Regions from separate parts of the Homo sapiens genome. Here regions 1, 2 and 4 are each linked to region 3. Evidence: promoter capture Hi-C in 16 types of primary human blood cells and fetal thymus (Javierre and others, 2016). All regions are on one chromosome and are shown on one strand. The core of a region is centred on a gene start or on the middle of the fragment in contact, and the rest is flanking DNA. Distances in the headings are between cores, read along the strand shown. Region 1 has its middle 16 kb from the start of CFAP126. Region 2 overlaps CD48 (CD48 molecule). Region 3 holds the start of ARHGAP30 (Rho GTPase activating protein 30). Region 4 has its middle 28 kb from the start of LY9.

Region 1 (2,700 bases), core at 82-2,581, 310 kb before region 3:
CCAGCCTGACCAACATGGAGAAACCCCGTCTCTACTAAAAATACAAAATTAGCTGGGTGTGGTGGCACATGCCTGTAATCCCAGCTACTAGGGAGGCTGAGGCAGGAGAATCGCTTGAACCTGGGAGGCGGAGGTTGCGGTGAGCCGAGTACTCCAGCCTGGGTAACAAGGCTGCACTCCAGCCTGGGTAACAAGAGCAAAACTCCGTCTCAAAAAAAAGAAAAGAAATTAAACATCTGAGCATTCCCGTAGGAAATAAATTTATTCAATTTGTTTAACCAATCAAATTAGATGAAGGCTAGAGATTTCAGATTTCAGGGTCTGGACTTTTGGGAACAGGCTGGTGTGGGGGTTTGCCAGACTACCTGAGTTTGGTAACTGGTTCTACAACTTACTGTGTGTTCTTGGAGAAGTTACTTAACTTTCCTAAGCTTCAATTTTTTCATATGCAAAATGTGCTATTATTATTCTAGTTTTACATTTGGTTGTTGCAAAAATAAGTTAAACCTTTTTGGTTACATTTTAATTTAATCACTACTATAATGATGATGCGACTACCAACACTGATCTAGATAGACTGTAGTCCAGCTTCTTTTTTTAGTTTTTTAATTTGATCTAGACTTTTTAGGAAATTACTCTGTGCAAGATTTCTGACAAAAGACAAGGGAGAGGGTAAAATTTAGAGTAGTTTGGGAGGTCGAGGCGGGCAGATCACTTGAGGTCAGGAGTTCAAGACCAGCCTGGCCAACATGGTGAAACCCCATCTCTACTAAAATACAAAAATTAGCTGGGCATGGTGGTGCACACCTGTAATCTCAGCTACTCGGGAGGTTGAGGCATGAGAATTGCTTGAACCCAGGAGGCAGAGGTTGCAGTGACCTGAGATCATGGCACTGCACTCCAGCCTGGGCAACAGAGCAAAACTCTGTCTCAAAAAAAAAAAAAAAAAGAGAGACACAAGATCTCATCCTGGCATCAGTCACTGGTATCTCCTTTCATTACTCCTTGGCAGTCCTCAGTAAGTGTCATATTGCTTTTTTTCCCAATTTTTTTTATTGTGGTAACATTATATAACATAAAATTTATCATCCTAACCATTTGTGAGTGTACAGCTCAGTGGTATTAAATACATTCATATTGTTTTGCAACCATCACCGTTATCCATTTCCAGAACTCTTTTCATTTTGCAAAACTGTAATTCTGTACTCATTAAGCAATAACTCCCGATCACCCCTCCCCTCAGCTCCTGGCAGCCACTCTTCTAATTTCTGTTCTATGATTTGGCTACTCAAAGTACCTGATATCAGTGGAATCATACAGCATTTGTCCTTTCATGACTAGCTTATTTCACTGAGCATAATGTCCTCAAGTTTCATCCATGTTCTGGCATGTGTCAGAATTTCCTGCCTTTTCAAGTCTAAATAACATTCCATTATTTTTCACATTACCTTTTGTTACTTTAGGAATCATGGTCTGGGGGCTGGCCTTTAGCAACCAATATGTTTGGGGAGAGAGATATCTTCCTCAATGGCCTATCTTCTTTGTTGATGGATTCCTAGAGAATTATGCTACATTTTGCATCCAGGAAGGGTCACCACACCTAATTAGCCCACTTTTTTCCTCCAGAATTTTAATGTGTCTGAAAATTCACCTCTTAAAGGAGGAAGTGAAGGCAAGAGAAAGAAAGATGTGGGAATTGGCAGAAATAATAATTCTTCAAATGAGTCCCTTCCTAGACAGCATTCTCAAGCTAGGTATGCAAAAGAGCAGGACCACAGAGCTGCATTAAGGAATTAGATTTTATAGGATCAGAAAACAATCTTAGGAAACTGGGCCATTTTTAGTCTTCATTTCTTTTTGTGTTCTTATCAAAAATTGTAAAGGGGGTGGAAGATACATGCTGAGGTGGCAACCAACAAACATTCTCTTCAGAGGGTAAGACCACAGTGCTACAGAGAATGGAGAAAAATGTCATATACTTCCACAAACCAGAGTCAATGTTAGGAAAGATTTCACTCTAACGGCTTCCCTGCTAAGGGAGTTCTTCCATGAGTAGCTTTCACTGTGCAAGATCAGATGAGACCTAGGGTAGCCCAGGACACAAGGATCCTCCCATAATCCCCCAAGGGGCCACTTTCAATGTGGGCTAGTCTCTGCCCGTCCCTGCCAGGAACTGAAGAGGCTGTGCCAGTACCTTTTCCCCTGATCAGTCTCTGGGAAGGCAAAGCTTTTCTGCATCTGCCCTCAGTGGTTAGTGAGACTGTGGGATCGTCCTGAAGGACAGGAGGTCCTGGAGTTCACCCTCATGACATCATATCTGGCTTAGGACCATCACTCTTCATGTCCTGCTCATCGCTGTTCCTCACCATAGTTTCTCCCTAATGCAATGCCTTGTGGGGAGCTATTTCCCTGAGTACACAGTGATATCAGGATGTGAATCACCTTTTTCTGGGCAGAGGTGGTGGAATTTTTTACCATCATGAAGCTGAGGTTCCTTGCCCATTCTGAGTTGAATAACCCAAATCTTGGCTCTTAGAGCTTCTCATATCCCTAATTCCTTATAAAACTTAACTCTGTCCCCAGCTCTTTACTATCCCATTGCTCAGTATCTTCTACCACGTCCTCCTTCTCAAGACTCTGATACCTAAAATATACAATTTTACAGCAGCAGGAGGAAATAGGCAAAGGATATTTTCCTTT
Region 2 (2,700 bases), core at 9-2,508, 390 kb after region 3:
CGGGAGCTAAATGAGACGCAGTCTCTTAGAGTTTTGGGGACCCTTAATAAACTTGGATCAATATCTCCAGCACTCTGGGAAATACCAGAGTCAGATACCCTCCACAATCCTGAAGTCAGATCCCTGAGCCCTAGCGTACACATTCTTCTAGAATAACTCAGACCTGAGGTGCTCACATTCACCTGTGACCCCTGTCATGCCCAGTCATCAGGGATTCTGGCCTCTGAGAACGTTGCTGTTTTGTGGTCTTCCTGGGCTCTGTCTACCCTCCTTAACTGCACTGATTTCTTTATCTCTACTCCCACATGTGGACTACGGAGACTGTGTATGCTCTTCCTTATTCTTCCTAACTAATTGGCCCTGTCTCTACCAGCCTCTCCTGATATGCCTTGCTCTTCTGCCACCACAGACCCACTGTGACAGTGTGGTATCTGACCATGAGAACACAATTTGGCTGGTGGTTCCAACACCACCCTCATATCAATATCACATCCTGAGATCCAGAAAAAGGAAGACGCACATTCCCTGTCCTCTATAAAATGGGTGTGACTGTTCATCCGAAGAGAGGATAAAAGCAATAATAAATCCATTTTTTTTGGAAGGGTAAACCCATCTGTCACTTTTTAGTCACCGAAATTATCCTAGAAAGCCCCCTCAAACTCCTTTCCCTACTGTATCACTCATTCCTTTTTTTTATTTTCTCCAGCTCAGCCCTTCCCCACCCCAGCATCTAAGCTTTCCTTCCATCCTTTTTCTTTTCCTTTCCTTTTCTGTCTTCCTTTCTCTTCCCTTCTTCTTCCTAGTTGGTGCAGATACTTAGTGGGGTAGAGAAACAAGGAAAGGAAGTGGTCCTTTTCTCTCTAAAGTCAGCTGTGCATTGTATCATGTGGTCATCTGTCTGTACCTGAAGATCTACCCTACCTCGTTGATGTCCAGAGTAGGGGAGCAATGCTTTCCCAGGCCACAGATATGTCGAGGTAACCTTTGAGCACAGGGCCCAGGTAAGCCAGTGATATTTAAGGAATTTCTGCATTTTTTATACTTTATGTTTGGGGAGATTGAGGAAAAGAATGTCCCAGCCAAATAGGATGGGATTCAGGGAAGAAATTAATTTCCCTGCTCTGTGAGCTCCCACACCAGTGTCCAGTACACTTGCCCCTTCTCAATACATTAGTCAAGATAAAGATACCTAAGCATATAGGGTTTTCTTGCTCTTTCAGCCCGGTCCTTTGGAGTAGAATGGATTGCAAGTTGGCTAGTGGTCACGGTGCCCACCATTCTTGGCCTGTTACTTACCTGAGATGAGCTCTTTTAACTCAAGCGAAACTTCAAGGCCAGAAGATCTTGCCTGTTGGTGATCATGCTCCTCACCAGGACAGAGACTGTATAGGCTGACCAGAAGCATGCTGCTGAATTATCAACGAGGATTTTCAAGTTAACTTTTAAATACTGGTTATTATTTAATTTTATATCCCTTTGTTGTTTTCTAGTACACAGAGATATAGAGATACACATGCTTTTTTCCCACCCAAAATTGTGACAACATTATGTGAATGTTTTATTATTTTTTAAAATAAACATTTGATATAATTGTCAATTAACTGAATTCCTGAAGTTGTCCCAAATCTGTCAGACAGTGCCTGCTCCATCAGCTGGGAGAAACTGGAATCTGGAGACACAGAGGGGAGAGCCTGGAGCCACCGGCTCCTGTGTGTCAACACAGCTGAGGAGCCAATTTGTGCTACTTCTGACCCTTATTCCAACATCCATGCTAAGCTTCCTGGGGCTCCAGCTCCCCTGCCAAGCCTTTGCCTCCTTCCCAGTGGCTTGCCTTGCTCTGACCCCTCTGAGGACCACTCTCCTTAAGTCTGCTGCAAACATAGGTTCAGGCTTGCTCTCGCAGAAGGAAGGATGCAGCTCTATCTCATAAGAAGCCTTCCTGCCCCACAAGCCTCGCATAGGGAGCTGAATTCTCTCTCCTCTTTTCCATTGACTGTGTGGGCAAGTCTTCAACTCCTAGTCGTTTCACTGGATCCAAAAAAACCATCAGATCGACACAGTGTTCTCACCAGAGTTGTCCACTATATGCAGGTAGGCGCCCCCAGGCCCACCACTGACATAACACCTGGGATTTTTGCTTAATGTCCCCTCCTCTAAGTCTCCTCATGTGCCTGGAGCTGAAAGGGTCACTACAGAATGCACTTCCCCTTCAGAAAACTGCCCACCACAGACTGCTTGCCTTTCAAACCAGACCAGCCTCCCCCATCTCCCTCGTGGCCCTTCCCTCCTCACCCCATCTCCTCGGTGACAGATACAGTGCTATGTGTTTGCCAAACCTTCTCATTTTCCCCTGGGTGAGTGAAAAAACTCTTTTTCCCAGCTACTTTTGTGTTTAGCTGGAGCCATGTGATGAAATCTGTCCAATAGAAAGTGGGCGGCATGGATGTGGCAGGAGTGAAGGACTTCGGAAGTCTGGCTATATGATGCAAGGAACTGCATCGGAGCCATTGTTTGGAAGGCAGCTGCCTGCCCTACATTGCACAAGCATGATAAGAAAGGTAGGGTTTTGTCTTTTCCACAAGACAGCCTGGGCTTCCGAAGAAACCCCCCACCCTGAGCCCAGCCTGTAGTCCCATCCAAAATCACCTCTGAGCAGCCTGCATCCCCATCCAAACTCACTTCTGAGCAGTCTGCATCCCA
Region 3 (2,700 bases), core at 138-2,637:
CTCTGGGTTGGGGCTGGAGTTCAATGAGGTTTATTTTTAGCTGGCCCACCCAGATACACTCAGCCAGAATACCTAGATTTAGTACCCAAACTCTTCTTAGTCTGAAATCTGCTGGATTTCTGGCCTAAGGGAGAGGCTCCCATCCTTCGTTCCCCAGCCAGCCTAGGACTTCGAATGTGGAGCCTGAAGATCTAAGATCCTAACATGTACATTTTATGTAAATATGTGCATATTTGTACATAAAATGATATTCTGTTTTTAAATAAACAGACAAAACTTGTTCTGTCTGGCTCCTGTCTTGCCCCTTGAACTGTGTAAGCTCTGAGTCACATACTCTCTGTCTCGGTACCATCCTTCCTGTAGTCCCAAGTAGGGGAAGACTTAGGATGCCTGTAGCTGGGAGGGAAGGGAAAGAATTGGCCTCCACAAGGCCTTTGGCCATCTCTGAGAGTCCCCTGGTAGGAAAGTGAAGCTAAGAACCCTTTCGAGGATGGCCAGTACCTTAGTTTGCAAAGTGTTTTAAATTCCTTTTTTTTTTTTTTTTGAGATGAAGTCTCACTTTGTCACCCAGGCTGGAGTGCAGTGGCACTATCTCAGCTCACTGCAACCTCCGACTCCCAGGTTCAAGCGATTCTCTCACCTCAGCCTCCCGTATAGCTGGGATTACAGGCACCCGTCACCATGCTCAGTTAGTTTTTGTATTTTTAGTAGAGACAGGGTTTCACCATGTTGGCCAAGCTGGTCTCGAACTCCTGACCTCAGGTGATTCACCCGCCTCAGCCTCCCAAAGTGCTGGGATTACAGGCGTGAGCCACTGCGCCCAGCCTGAATTCCTTATTGTACTGGAGACTCAACAACAGCTATGTGAAATAGGCAGCAGTGTACCCTTTTTTACAGGTAAAGAAACTGAAACTCAAGTTAAATGAGTTTTACAGACTCTTAGAGGTGGGAGGATTTAAAGGTCCTCTAGTCTGCTCCCTTCATTTTCCTAGGTTTGGAAACTGAGGCTCAGTGAAGTAATGCGATTTGACTGAGGTGCTAGATCCATCAGAGGCAGAACCCAGGCATCCTCCCTTGTGAGTGTGCTTTTTACAGCCCTGTGTCAACTTGCTCCCAGGCAAGCCCCAGGTCTCTACCTTGGACCCAAGAATTCTGGTCTCTAAGGGAGTTGGTCACCTGCTCACACCACAGACGCCATCACCCCACCCCAGGGCTCTGACATCACCTCCCCTGACCAATGAATGAAGTCCAAGCAAAGGGTGAGGATGTGAATGTCAGCTACCTCCCCCACCCTAGGCCCTGTGGTTGCAAAGATGCTCTAACAGGAAGTGGGTTAAGGAGCTGCACTGCTTCCTGCCCCCTAAAGCTGAGCGGGGCGAGGAGGGCGAGTGCCAGGCTGGGCCACGAGACACAGGACACAATTTCTTGCCAGGGTCCTGGTAGCTTCCTCTTCAACAGCCACTTCCGTGTGGCCGGGGCCCCAGGGGCAGGAGCTGCTGCCCGTTGCCCAGGCCACCCTCCACCCCCAATTGGGAGCCCTGCCCCCCTGGGGCCGGGCCAAGCCCAGCAGCTGGCTGGGATCCCATGGGGGACTGGTAGGGCACAGGTCTTGGGGGATAGAGGTGACCGGGCCAGTGCCCTGGGGCTCTGGCCATGAAGTCTCGGCAGAAAGGAAAGAAGAAGGGCAGCGCAAAGGAGCGGGTTTTTGGGTGCGACTTGCAGGAGCACCTGCAGCACTCAGGCCAGGAGGGTAAGGAGGCCGGCTCAGCTTCTGCAGGGTGGGTGGGGAGGCACTGGGCATCTGCAGCCCGATCCAGCCTGAAGGGCAGAAGCAGTTTCCGGTGCTCCTGGGGAAGGGGCAGTGGCCTGGGGTCACCATTCAAGAGAACTGTAAGTGGGCAAGACAGGAAATGTGGCTCAGTGAAGAAGGCAGGGCGGCTCCCTTGTGTAACTTTCTGGGGATGGGGTGGCTGAGGGGATGAGAATGTGAGTACCCAGGTAGCAGTGAGGGGGAGGATGGAGAGACTGGAAACCGAGGAGGAGTGGATGAAACAGCGGGCAGGTGACTGGGAACAGGAGAGGGAGGGTGAGGCGACAGGGTCAGGAGAGGAGTGGCTGAAGGGGAAATGATTATCCTTAGGTCTGAATGAAAGGAGACAGGGAAATGGCCCCAGAAGGGTCTCAAGATGGCCCTTGAGGCGGGTGGTTTCCTGGCTGGAGAACACCCAAGGACAAGGTCATGGGCTCTGTTCCCACTGCAGCCTTGCTGGGCCGCAGGGGATGATGTCGGGCTGGAAACAACCTCTGCCCCTAGTCTTTGTGATTCTCTTGTTGTCCCTGTGCAAAAGAGAAACAGGTTCAAAGTGGGGGGCAAGGGGAGAAGCTGCTGAAATGGGGAAGAATGAAAGAGAGGGTGTGAGGCCTGGCTTGAAGCTGGAGGTGGAGGGTGCAAAGGAGGGTGGGTGTGGAGCTGTCTGTGGAGCTCACCCAGCTCCCTCCCTGGGTTACCTTAGAGTGGGCTTTGAAGCCAGAAGGACCAGGGACAATATCAGGTTCACAACGGGGCCTGGCATGGAGCAGCCACTCAAAATCATTTCTTGATTCAATTTGAAATTGAACCCAGGCACCCTGGCTGCCCAGCCCAGCTTGTTTTTGGCACTTCAAGCTCCTCCTAGAGAAAGGCATAATTCTTTCCCCACT
Region 4 (2,700 bases), core at 90-2,589, 300 kb after region 3:
GGTTGGCAACCCAGGAGAGTCTTTCGGAGAGTTTCTGTTAGACTGCTCCAAAGCAGTGTTTCAGCCTACAGCTTATACATAAGGTGACAGTCATTCTGCCTGTGCTCAAAAGTTATGTAAGAGCAAAATTTCACCAAAGTTTGGGTGCAAGGGTACATCTAGTTATAGATTACAGAGGCATAATGATTAATCCTGTCAACCATTATCTTATGTACAGCAAAAAGACAAAGGCCAGGATCATTGAATTTATCTTTTCTAAAAATGCAGTGATTTAGGTAAGAGATGTGGTAACCTGGGCTCCATCCTTCTTATCATCTTCAGGGCATCCTTCCGAAGGGCTGTCCTCAGTCACTGAGTCAGGGGCTTTGTGAAATTCTGCTGGCAGCTGAATGAGCAAACATGGCCTCTTATGTTTGCTACTTTGTCTTACAGAGTAAGTGAATGTAAAACAAAAACAAAAACAGAATGAATGAATGAAAGTCTCTGTGAGAGAAGCAACCTATCCATTGCTGTTTGCCTTTCCCACAGTTCTGGGTTTGGCTAGGGAGAGTTCACATCCCTGCTGATGTTTATTTTAAATTTCGAAGCAATAAGGAAATTGAAAAATGGACACAAAATTCAGGGGTATCTATTTCCTTTCTATTCATACAGCCTTATATTTTGCCTTCTAAGCTATTCTTTTCCTTGTATTCTTTTTAGACTCTCATTCAGATTATGTTACCTCAATATTCTTCCCTTAGAAGACTTTAAGAAGCAGATTCCATTCAACAGTTTTACTCTACAGAAATACTGTGTGTAAGGCCGGGTGCGGTGGCTCATGCCTGTAATCCCAGCACTTTGGGAGGCTGAGGCAGGTGGATCCCCTGAGGTCAGAAGTTTGAGACCAGCTGGCCAACATGGTGAAATCCCATTTCTACTAAAAATACAAAATTTAGCTGGGTGTAGTGGTGCACACCTGTAATCCCAGCTCCTCAGCTACTCAGGAGGCTAAGGGAGGAGAATTGCTTGAACCTAGGAGATGAAGGTTGCAGTGAGCCAAGATTGCACCACTGCACTCCTGCCTGGGCAACAGAGTGAGACTCCATCTCAAAAAAAAAAAAAAAAGAAGAAGAAGAAGAAGAGGAAATACTGTGTGTTTTCCTCAGTGTTCATGAAGCTTAATGTGCAGGTATTTTCATAAGGTTCTATATTTTATTGAAAAACAGACAACAAAACAAGAAACAGACTAGTAAAATTGCTGAATATGTGCATGGTTTGCCAGCTGGGCCAAGAGGAGGCAGCAGTGAGCTAACCCAGGGCTTGCTGTGTGGCTTGGAGGATCCTGTCACCATCAGCCTGCATTGTGACCTTGCTTTCATTTTCTCTCTCTGAGATGAGGGAGTTAGACTACATGATCCTTAGAGTCTCTTCCAGCTCCAAAATTCTCTGTGTAAGTTTTAAATAGATGTTTGGGACTGATTTAGGTCTGGGAAGAGAAAAGTGAAGGAAACAGACAAAAATTCCCTCCGTTTATGAAGCTTACATTCCCATGGGGCCTTCCAGACCCTACGGTTGTCATAGTGGCGAGGAGGCTGCCTGGATTGGAGGGTATGAGGCTGGGTAGGAAGTCAGACCAGGGCTTGACCAGTAGGCATCAGACAGATCCAGGGACCAGGCAAAGCAGGAAATGAATGAAATTCACTGGGTCCAAGTGAGATGGGAGCAGGGAACAGGCTCTCCACAGAGCCAAGCAATCAGAGGGATTGTGCTAGGTCCCTAACTGACCAGGAGGAGACAGGCAGAGTTGTACCCACAGGACAGTTGGGCCTGCAGAACCTCCAGAACCAGAAAGTCCGTTTAGCAGCCTGACTCAGCAAGGCTTGCTTCTGCTCCTGGGGAGATGCACAGGTCCCAGCATGCAAGTGACTGGGAGGGAACATGGAGAACACAGCAAAGAGGAGGAGCTAGAAAGAGCACCGGAGGAGTGAGGGGAGGAACAGCTCAGAGCCTTATAGCTGACAAGCCTTCTGTAAGGGTGGCGTGAATGAGTGAATGACACAGAGGGGAGTGTTTGCTACTTTGCTTGATCTGTGAGCACTGGTCAGCTGCCTCTTATTATATGCCTCAACTTTATAATGATATGATTAACTGCTATTCTCAGGTCTTCAGTTACTCTTTATACTTAAAGTTCTAGAGGCTCAGTTCTGAATGGAATCTATATAATTAGCCAGTAGTCTCTTTATGATGAGGTAACTTCTGTCGAAGGACTGTGATGTTATACTCTGCTGAACACTTTACGTGTATGATTATCTTTACCTTTAATCTCACTACAATCCTATGAGGTAGAAAGTATCTTTCACATTTTATAGAAGAGAAAACTGAGGTTCCAAGAAACTAAGCATTTTGCTCATGGTCATAGGACTAAGAGAAGATACATGACGTCCAGAGTTGCTTTTCTCTTTCTCTCTCTCTTTCTCTATCTCTTTCTCTCTCTCTCTCTCTCTCTCTCTCTCTCTCTCCCCCCTCCCCTCTCTGTATCTCTTCCTCTCTCCTCTCCAAGTTTTCAGTGTGGTGAAAGTAATGCAGATTAGTGACTAACCACTGTGGGTAGCATGGGTTTTTTCTTCTTTTTCCCCTTTTTAATTACACATCCTTTCCTTTCGTTTTCCTGGTGCTCTAAGCCAGCTCACCCCTGGTTTTTTATTCTGCCTTGTTTGGGAT

The links. The method cuts DNA at HindIII sites, captures the fragments that hold promoters and counts their contacts. A CHiCAGO score of 5 or more calls a contact.
Region 1: a contact is called between a fragment that was not itself captured here and the fragment with the promoter of ARHGAP30 in region 3, in 3 of 17 cell types (monocytes, naive B cells and M0 macrophages). The highest score is 6.1, in monocytes.
Region 2: a fragment that was not itself captured here is called in contact with the fragment with the promoter of ARHGAP30 in region 3 in 2 of 17 cell types (neutrophils and fetal thymus); the score reaches 5.9 in neutrophils.
Region 4: a contact is called between a fragment that was not itself captured here and the fragment with the promoter of ARHGAP30 in region 3, in 1 of 17 cell types (erythroblasts). The highest score is 5.5, in erythroblasts.

What each region holds. Positions count from the first base shown.
Region 1 is chr1:161,382,363-161,385,062 of GRCh38, reverse strand. No RefSeq gene overlaps it. Among named protein-coding and RNA genes, the nearest start is that of CFAP126, 16 kb to the right of the region's middle. The HindIII fragment of the contact is 1,796 bases long and covers 434-2,229 here.
Region 2 is chr1:160,677,652-160,680,351 of GRCh38, reverse strand. It overlaps CD48 (CD48 molecule), which reads left to right. Exons shown (of 4, transcript NM_001778.4): 4 at 1,221-1,606. The coding sequence ends at 1,300. Among named protein-coding and RNA genes, the nearest start is that of SLAMF1, 32 kb to the right of the region's middle. The HindIII fragment of the contact is 1,041 bases long and covers 738-1,778 here.
Region 3 is chr1:161,068,578-161,071,277 of GRCh38, reverse strand. It overlaps ARHGAP30 (Rho GTPase activating protein 30), which reads left to right and starts at 1,387. Exons shown (of 12, transcript NM_001025598.2): 1 at 1,387-1,750. The coding sequence starts at 1,654. NECTIN4 (nectin cell adhesion molecule 4) reads left to right here. Exons shown (of 9, transcript NM_030916.3): 9 at 1-280. RefSeq lists a silencer at 1,502-1,651 and an enhancer at 1,548-2,094. The HindIII fragment of the contact is 15,879 bases long and covers 1-2,700 here.
Region 4 is chr1:160,767,088-160,769,787 of GRCh38, reverse strand. No RefSeq gene overlaps it. Among named protein-coding and RNA genes, the nearest start is that of LY9, 28 kb to the left of the region's middle. RefSeq lists enhancers at 1,316-1,765, 1,796-1,845. The HindIII fragment of the contact is 361 bases long and covers 1,159-1,519 here.